Linked DNA regions of Homo sapiens: all the other regions are linked to region 2. Evidence: promoter capture Hi-C in human tissues and cell types (Jung and others, 2019). All regions are on one chromosome and are shown on one strand. The core of a region is centred on a gene start or on the middle of the fragment in contact, and the rest is flanking DNA. Distances in the headings are between cores, read along the strand shown.

The links. Contacts are between HindIII fragments. The study calls those that stand out against the background at their distance.
Region 1: the fragment with the promoter of OSM here is called in contact with a fragment that was not itself captured in region 2 in 1 of the 25 tissues and cell types used here (IMR-90 fibroblasts).
Region 3: a contact is called between the fragment with the promoter of TBC1D10A here and a fragment that was not itself captured in region 2, in 1 of the 25 tissues and cell types used here (dorsolateral prefrontal cortex).

Annotation. Positions count from the first base shown.
Region 1 is chr22:30,265,428-30,268,127 of GRCh38, reverse strand. OSM (oncostatin M) reads left to right here and starts at 1,277. Exons shown (of 3, transcript NM_020530.6): 1 at 1,277-1,362. The coding sequence starts at 1,329. RefSeq lists enhancers at 1,874-1,973, 2,034-2,113. The HindIII fragment of the contact is 14,267 bases long and covers 1-2,700 here.
Region 2 is chr22:30,000,426-30,003,125 of GRCh38, reverse strand. It overlaps MTMR3 (myotubularin related protein 3), which reads right to left. Exons shown (of 20, transcript NM_021090.4): 9 at 133-246. Among named protein-coding and RNA genes, the nearest start is that of MIR6818, 5.3 kb to the left of the region's middle. The HindIII fragment of the contact is 4,025 bases long and covers 1-2,700 here.
Region 3 is chr22:30,325,562-30,328,261 of GRCh38, reverse strand. It overlaps TBC1D10A (TBC1 domain family member 10A), which reads left to right and starts at 1,321. Exons shown (of 9, transcript NM_031937.3): 1 at 1,321-1,589. The coding sequence starts at 1,381. RefSeq lists silencers at 1,069-1,398, 1,699-1,748 and an enhancer at 1,965-2,700. The HindIII fragment of the contact is 10,227 bases long and covers 1-2,700 here.

The DNA.
Region 1 (2,700 bases), core at 28-2,527, 270 kb before region 2:
CAGCCTCCAGGAGTCCCACCCTGACTCCCCAGACTCCTGAGGGCCTCCTCCCACCCGGGCTTCTTAGGGTGCAGGCCAAGGACCCTCCTCTGGGCCTGGGAGATGTGCTGACCAGGCAGGGTCTATAGGCCTGGGCCAGCCTCTTGGCCTCCCTGTCTGCCTTCACCCAGGCCTCAGTTTACCCCACAGTAAAGTAGCAGTTTGACTAGGGAGGCGCTGTTCCCAGGGCCCTTTCGCAGAGGACCAACCTAAGATCGCTATCTTTCAGAGAAAGTGAAACCTGGTCCCCAACTGTCAAGGCGGCAACTCCCCCTCCCCGGCTTCCCCTCTGAGCTCACAGCTTCCCCATCTCCTCCTTCCCCCATCCCGCCCCCTCGACAGCTAATACTTGGAATCAGACCTTCATCTTTGCTTTTTCCTTCAGAGGTCTTTTCCTTTTATGTCCATGCTGGCAGCAACCCTGTGAGGTGGGCTGGGAAAGGCTTTTCTCCTCCTCATTTTATAGTTGTGGGTCTCTGAGGCCCAGAGAGGTTAAGTGACTTGCCTCAGGTCACACAGCACCTCAGCAGGCTTGAACCCTGGCCTCCTGTTTCTCTTGCTCCAAGTGTCCAGTTCTCCCCAGTGGAGCCTGCCTACAAAGACAAGGCCTGGCTTTGGGGAGTGGGCCTGGCAGAGGGTGCACGATGGGGGAAAGGAGACCGTCGGGAGCCGGGCTGGGGGATGCTGGTCCTGGGGCCTGAACCACAATCTCGGGGCTGCCAGCCTGCGTCTGGCTCTGTGCCCAGAGCCCGGTGGTTTCCGCTCACAGATGTCCCAACAGCCCCGGCGAGAGGGCAGGAAGGGCACTCAAGAAGGAAGATGTCTCGCTCCCCTCAGCCCCCAACCACCGTGTCCTGTGAGGCCAATGGCTCCTGGGCCAAGACTGGCCTGGGGCCTCCAGAGGCCCAGCTCGAAGTCCCTCCTGCCCATCCCTGGCCCAGTTCCCTGAAGATGGCATGGACCCTTTTCCTCCCCACTCACCCTAGGAAGGCTGAGGCTGCGGTTTTACATCATCCTTGGGCGTAGGGCTGACCTCGAAGAACGAATTCGAAGAAAACAGGAGGAGGAGCGGGCATACACCGCGCCCTGCGCCCATTGGCCGCCCGTGGAAATTTTGGTTTTTGGGGTCATGTTCCCAGAAGGCCTGCCCTCCCCCCTCCCCATCCCCACCCACCTCATGAGGTGTTGGCCAATCGCCCCAGCGGGCATAAAGTGGCTGCCAGCCTGCAGGGCTCCCAGCCGAGAGGTGTCACCCCCAGCGGGCGCGGGCCGGAGCACGGGCACCCAGCATGGGGGTACTGCTCACACAGAGGACGCTGCTCAGTAAGTACTTCCTTCCTCCCCGCCAGAACCCGCCTGCTGGGTCTGCCCACGGGTGCCGGTGGGGAGCAGAGGCACCCTCTGCCCTCCGGGAACTGGGGAGGCCAGGCGCCAGGCAGAAGGATGCTGAGAAGGGGAGAGAGCCAGGAGGTCAGGCAGAGAGAGTGGTCCACTGAGAACCTGGCATCTCCACAGGTAGAGAAGGGGCATCCCTGGAAGGCTTCCAGGGGGAGGTGATGTCAAGATGTAGAGGCAACTCTGGGAACCAGGGGGTGAGAGAATAGGATGGGCAAAGAGGCTGGGCAGGAGAGGGAGGCTCAGAAGCTGGGCAGGGAAGTGGTGTGAGGTGTGGAGGGGTTGTGGGGCCTCCAGCTTGCCCGGGATGAATAGAAAGTCAGCCAGGCCTGGGGGCCCCAGGGCCCACACAATCACACAGCATGCACAGCCACACCCACATGGCCACATGCGCACACAGCCATATGACGTCATCTACAGCCCTGGATCTCACCAGCCCAGGAACCCCCACATGCAGACCAGAGTCCCCATGGTGAACGGAACAGGTCTCCCTCACGCCGCACACAGACCCAGATGCACAGCCACACAGAAACCCCAGTCCCACGTGCGCTGCCACAGGCACAGGCCCCTGCCAGAGCCCGGCAGCAGATACCTGGGGAGGCGGCGAGGGTGCCGTGGGGTCGCTAAGCCTGGGTGCCTGGCCCCTTGGCCCTCCCCAACAGCCAGTCTTCCCCAAAGGGCCGGATGGTTCTTAGGACGGGAACGATGGTGTCACTGCCTTCCGGGCCATTGCGCCATAGGCCCCTTCCGACCACGTGGCTGCCGGTGCCCCGTTGGGGGTGGTGGTGAGCGGTAACTGTACCCGCCCCCAACACCTTCTGACAGGCTCACAGCATCCCTGGTGGGCCTGACAGAAGGAGCCACTTATGGAGAGAGGAGGGAGGCAAGAGAGGTCAGGGGAGAGCCCTGGCCTTGTGTGACCTGAGTAGGACCTTCTCCTGAGACTTGGTTTACCTGTCAGGAAAGTGGGGACATGGACTGGAAGGTCTTCCACATCTGTTCCAGGCTGCACCTCTGGTTGAAAAGGCAGCCTCTCCTGGTTCTAGACAGAGCTGAGGACACAAGCTGCTCCCGGGCTGCCTGCCCTGAAGCCCTCTCAGGCCCATCTACCTGGATGGCCAGAGCAGCTGACAAGGCAGGTCCTAGGGCAGTGGCCGGTCTTTAGCCCAGTGGTCTTGCAGGGAGCCAGTCCCACCTTGCAGAGAGTCAGCTCCCGAGGTTAGAACCGTGCTGTAGGCAGGACTGGGATCCGGCCAGGCACTGCAG
Region 2 (2,700 bases), core at 101-2,600:
GAAGTACAGCCTTGCCTAGAAAGTTCTCTGAACTCTCCCCACCCTTCCCAGGTTAGCAGCAGCAGAGGCAGCAGACCATATGCAGCAGGCAGCAGCACCAGCCCAAGCTGGGACTGGTCCAGTTTAACTTACCTGTAGATGACGGCAGGGATGCGCTTCCAGGACCTGAAACTTGATACACTTTCCAGTTCTTTGTCAGTGATCCAGGCAGGCACTATGAGCTCTTGAGGATAGCTACCACATAATCTAAAGAGAAGATGAGAAGTGGGGAGAGTCAAGGGGATAAGAGAGGGAGAGAGAAAACGGGAGAGAGAGAGAGACACTAGGTGAGCCAGCATAAGGATGATGATCTCACTGCCACAGAACCAGTTAAAGGCAATGAGGCGCTTTATTCGAGTTTTGGACTCCTCAACAGAATGGGTTACCATAAGTGTGTTTTGTTTTGTTTTGTTGCCTTAAATGTTTACTTATGTGTATACAACAAATGATACTATCTTGAATTGTTCCACTTGATGCTACCTTTTGGGAATCTGGCAATCTTAACTATCAATGAAAAAAAGGGGAGTCGAGGGTCAGCTCTTTATACTCCATTACAACTCTTCTGCTGTAACAAGTACATAGGTTATTTCTAACTACATGAGCGCCCAGTCCAATTACAGAACTGAGAGTCCGTGTCAGTTCTACCAGACCCTCAGGGAAGGAAAAAAGCCCACAATTGCAAGTTTCCAGAGACTTCACAGGATTAACTCATTCTTTGATTTGAACCAAACAGGGTGTCATCCTTATAGGTAACAGGTGCAGCCATGGGTATGCAAAACCAACACAAGCCAGTCTATCTGCATACACAGCCTCAGTCCCATTGAACCAGGTTAGTAATGTGACTAAGCTATTAACCATAATTTCCATAAAACATACTTCAGAACAAATTATACTGGGGGCGGGGGGATAAGCTTTCTTTTAATTAGGGAAGATCCCAGCTACAGTCAAGCCGGTATCCTAGGAAGCAATACTTCCGATAGATTTTTACTTACAGGACAATGTCTCTCTCTGGATAATCCAATCTTCTTTTTTCAATAGTGAAGGCAATAAGGCCTTTAATCCAAATCCTAAAACACACAAACTCCACCAACACCACCAACCCCCTGCCCTAGCCTATCCTATACATAGCAGAAAGCGCAGAAAAACACAAAATGGCTTAGGATTTGGGGGTTTTGATCATTTTGCACTAAATCTCTCCTCAATTTCCAGAAGAGGAGACTTCTGGAATTTTCAGGAATTTAAAAGCCACTGAACAAAAGAGAATGGCTATGACTAAGAGTAGCTATACAAACTTCCTAACACCTATTCACAAACTCCTAAAAATAAGCTGGGAGCCAGTAATGATGGTTAATATCTAACCATGAATCTCATTCCCTTTATTATGTATTAAACTCAAGAGTAAACTTGGCTCTCACTCTTCTACCTTTGTAGTAGGAAGAACTTTCAACATCCTGTTGTTTCCCACCACCCCCCATTTTGTTTTATGGTGGTGATAACATCCTAAAGACTGGTTCTGAGGTATAACTGGTAAACTCCTTGAGACAGTTGTTCTGTTACCCGGGCTAGAGAGCAGTGGAGCGGTCATGGCTCACAGCAGCCTCGACCTCCTGGGCTCAAACAACTCTTCTACTTCAGCCTCCCCAGTAGCTGGGACTACAGGCATGCACCACCATGCCCAACTAATTTTTTTTTCTTTGAGATGGAGTCTCGCTCTGTCGCCCAGGCTGGAATGCAGTGGCATGATCTCGGTTCATTGCAAGCTCCACCTCCCGGGTTCACGCCATTCTCCTGCCTCAGTCTCCTGAGTAGCTGGGACTACAGGCGCCCGCCACCACGCTGGCTAATTTTTTTGTATTTTTAGTAGAGACGGGGTTTCACTGTGTTAGCCAGGATGGTCTCGATCTCCTGAGCTCGTGATCCACCCGCCTCGGCCTCCCAAAGTGCTGGGATTAGAGGAATGAGCCACCATGCCTGGCCAAATTTTTAAGAAATTTTCTGTAGAGATGAGGTCTCACTATGTTGCCCAGCCTAGTCTCAAACTCCTGGGCTTAATCAATCCTCTATCTTGGCCTCTCAAGAAGTTAATTTTTAAAAGCCGAATTGGGGATTATTTTCCAACAAGTCTGTCTTAATTCACAGTTTTTTTTTACTTGATCTAATTTTCTAAACATTCTGTTCATTGTCCTATAGGTACTACACTCCCAGTAGTCAGCTCTTCAGTATGCACTACCTACTCACTTGTGGATAAACAATTTCCAGTATAGGTTACACTCAGGAAAGCCTAATGCAGCCACAGGCTCTCTGAGGCCGCCCCCTCATCCAGCATTCACCCTCCTTCTTTGCTTTGACTCATCACTGAGAACAGGCAAAAGTATAAAAAGTCTGCAGCTCCAACTCTTCAAAACACCCTGGGTTCTCAACTCCCTGGAGAAGGTCCACATTAAGAACTGTGTATAGCAATTAGCTATAGCTTTTCCAGTGAAAACTCTGACGGCTAGCCACAAACAGACCAGGAAAATGCCCGTCATAATTTGAGACAGCTAAGAGGACCGCAGAATGATTAATGATGCAGGGAAACGTAGGAGAAGGATATATATATTTTTTTTTTTTATTTTTTTTATTTTTTAAGACAAAGTCTCGCTCGGTTGCCCAGGCTGGAGT
Region 3 (2,700 bases), core at 72-2,571, 330 kb before region 2:
TTAACTGTAAAATGGGACTAATAATGGTGTATACCTCATTGCTAAGAGATTACAAGACATGTTGCAACCAATTTGGAAAACAGTTTGCCAGTTCCTCGAAAGGTTAAACAGTTGCCATATGACCCAGCAATTCCACTCTTCCTTATCTATCCAAGAGAAATGTAAACATAAGGCCCCCACACAAAAGCTTGTACCTGAATGGTCAGAGCAGCATTATTCATAATGGCTAAAAACTAGAAACACGCGAATGACCATCACTGATGAATGGAAAAACAAAATCTGGTATAGTCCCAGCTCCCAGGAGGGGCAGTATAGGTCTTTCATGGCGGTGTGGGCCTATCCCAGGAAAGGGAGGGGTGGAGTCAGACATACCTGGGGCAGATGTGAATCCAGAAGCACTGATACATGCTACAATGTGGATGAAACTTGAAAATGTTCAAGAGAAAGAATCCAGACATAAAAGGCCATATATTGTATAATTCCATTTATATGAAATATCCAGAAAAGGGACATCTATAGAAACAGGAAGCAGATTAGTGGTTGCCAGGGACTGGGGGAGCCAGGATGCGGAGTGACTGCTAATTGGTAGGAGTTTCTTTTTGGGGTGATGAAAATGTTCTAAAATTAGAATGTTGTGATGGCTGCACAACTCTGTAAATATGCTAAAAATCATTGTACACTTTAAACGTGAATTTATGGTATGTTTATGTTCCATAAAACTGCTGGGGAAAAGACTACAGGAGAAAGTAGGTAGAGCTTCGGGCGTGCGTGGCTCAGTAAACGCTGGTGATTATTAATAATTAGGTCTCACGAGGTAATTTAAAGCCCCAGAAGCAGTGAGTGCAATGGGACTGCCAGACTTCTGGCTCAGGCTGGGCCTTTAAGCCGCTCTGCGTCCCTGAACTCACTTGGGCCTCCTCAGAGTTCCTCATAAATGAATGGGGCAAACAATCCCTACCACGTCCTTGGGGTCTCGCAGGGAGCGGGGCTCAGGAGGCAGATGAGGAATCCATGGAGGAAGCCCTGGGCCTCCGGCTCGCGCTCTGCAGTAGGTGACAGGCCCCGCTTGGAGCCAACCCGGAAAGGCCCGAGCTCGTCCAGGTGAGTTCTTGTGATTGGCAGCCCGGAGGAGGGCGGGGAGGGCTGCGGTGACGGCTGCCCCGCCCCCTCACTTCGGGCTTGTTGGCGCCCGCCGGGGGAGGGTGGGCGGGGCCCGGGGTCCGCGGCGCCCATTGGGCGTGGGGGGAGAGCTCCGGGGTGGGCCTGGAGCCCCGCCCCCCGGCCTTGCGGCGGCCAATAGGCGCCGCGCGTGGGCGGGGCGTCGGCGGCAGCAGGGCGGCTGAGGTGGCCGCTGGAGCTCAGGCGGCGGGCGCGGCTGGGATGGCGAAGAGCAACGGAGAGAATGGGCCGCGCGCGCCCGCGGCCGGGGAAAGCCTGTCGGGAACCCGGGAGAGCCTGGCCCAGGGCCCCGACGCCGCAACCACCGACGAACTCAGCTCTCTCGGGTCTGACTCGGAGGCCAACGGCTTCGCCGAGCGCCGCATCGACAAGTTCGGCTTCATCGTGGGCTCGCAGGGCGCCGAGGGCGCGTGAGTAGCGCCGGGGGTCGGGACTGAGCGCGCCACCCACGCGAGGGGCCTCGACACGGACGGAGGCGCCCTCGGGACTTGCCGACACGTCCCCCTCCCAGGCAGGGACCACTAATCCCCGTTCCCTCCCCTGCCCCACCCCCACCACCCCTGCCTTCCTAGACCCGCCCCCTTCGCAGTCCTACTTCCGACCCAGGGGGCGGACGGGCCCACACCTCCACCCGCCACCTCCACCCTCCGGACAGACTGACCCGCTCCCAGGAAGGACCGACTGTGCCCTCCTTCCAGCCGTGGAACAGAATGACAGACTGCCCCAAACCCACCCCTGCCGCCAAGACCTTAGGGATGATTGTTTCTGCCACCCCGACAGGCTCCCAGATGGCTGGCGCCCCCCTCCATAGACACTCATTCTCCATCTTTCCCCCTCCCACAAACCCACAGACGCCCTTGTCTCCCCGCCTCACTGCCCCCACACCAGGAGACCTCAGACCGACTTCAGGACTGACTGCCCCGCCCCCACCCCTTCCCAGGACAGACTGACCCTTTCCTCGAGGCATACAGACCTCTGGATGGACAGACATTGGTCACCTCCCTCCCCTCAGCTCCATCCTGGGACAGACAGTCCCTTCTCCTCATGGAAGGGTCGGAGAAGGGCCCCCTATCCGCTCATACACAGCTTCCTCCACTGGCACTGGCAACAGGTGGGCAGGTACTCCCCCTTCCCAGCACGTACAGGGCGACAGGGAGCCCCACCACTAGGACAGACCATCAGCTCCAGCAGCCACAGGAGCCAGTAGATGGGCTCTGTGTATGTCCTGTGTATGTATGCGCCTCCTCCCAAGGGCAGATCTTGGGCGTGGGACGGGGGCAGGCAGGGAGACAGCAGGGTCCCTGCTCATATTAGCACCCCCCGATGTCCTATCCCGAGAGCACCCAGACACCCAGCTAGCAGACAGAGAAATGTGGGGCAGTGGAACAGCACCTTGCCTCCAAGCTGGGCCCCATGTTGCCCCACAGAATCCCCCGAGCCCAGGCCTCAGAGATCATGTGTACAGGCTGGCGGTCCCCTTAGGAAAGATGGACTCCATACCCCACTCCCATCCCAGCTGTC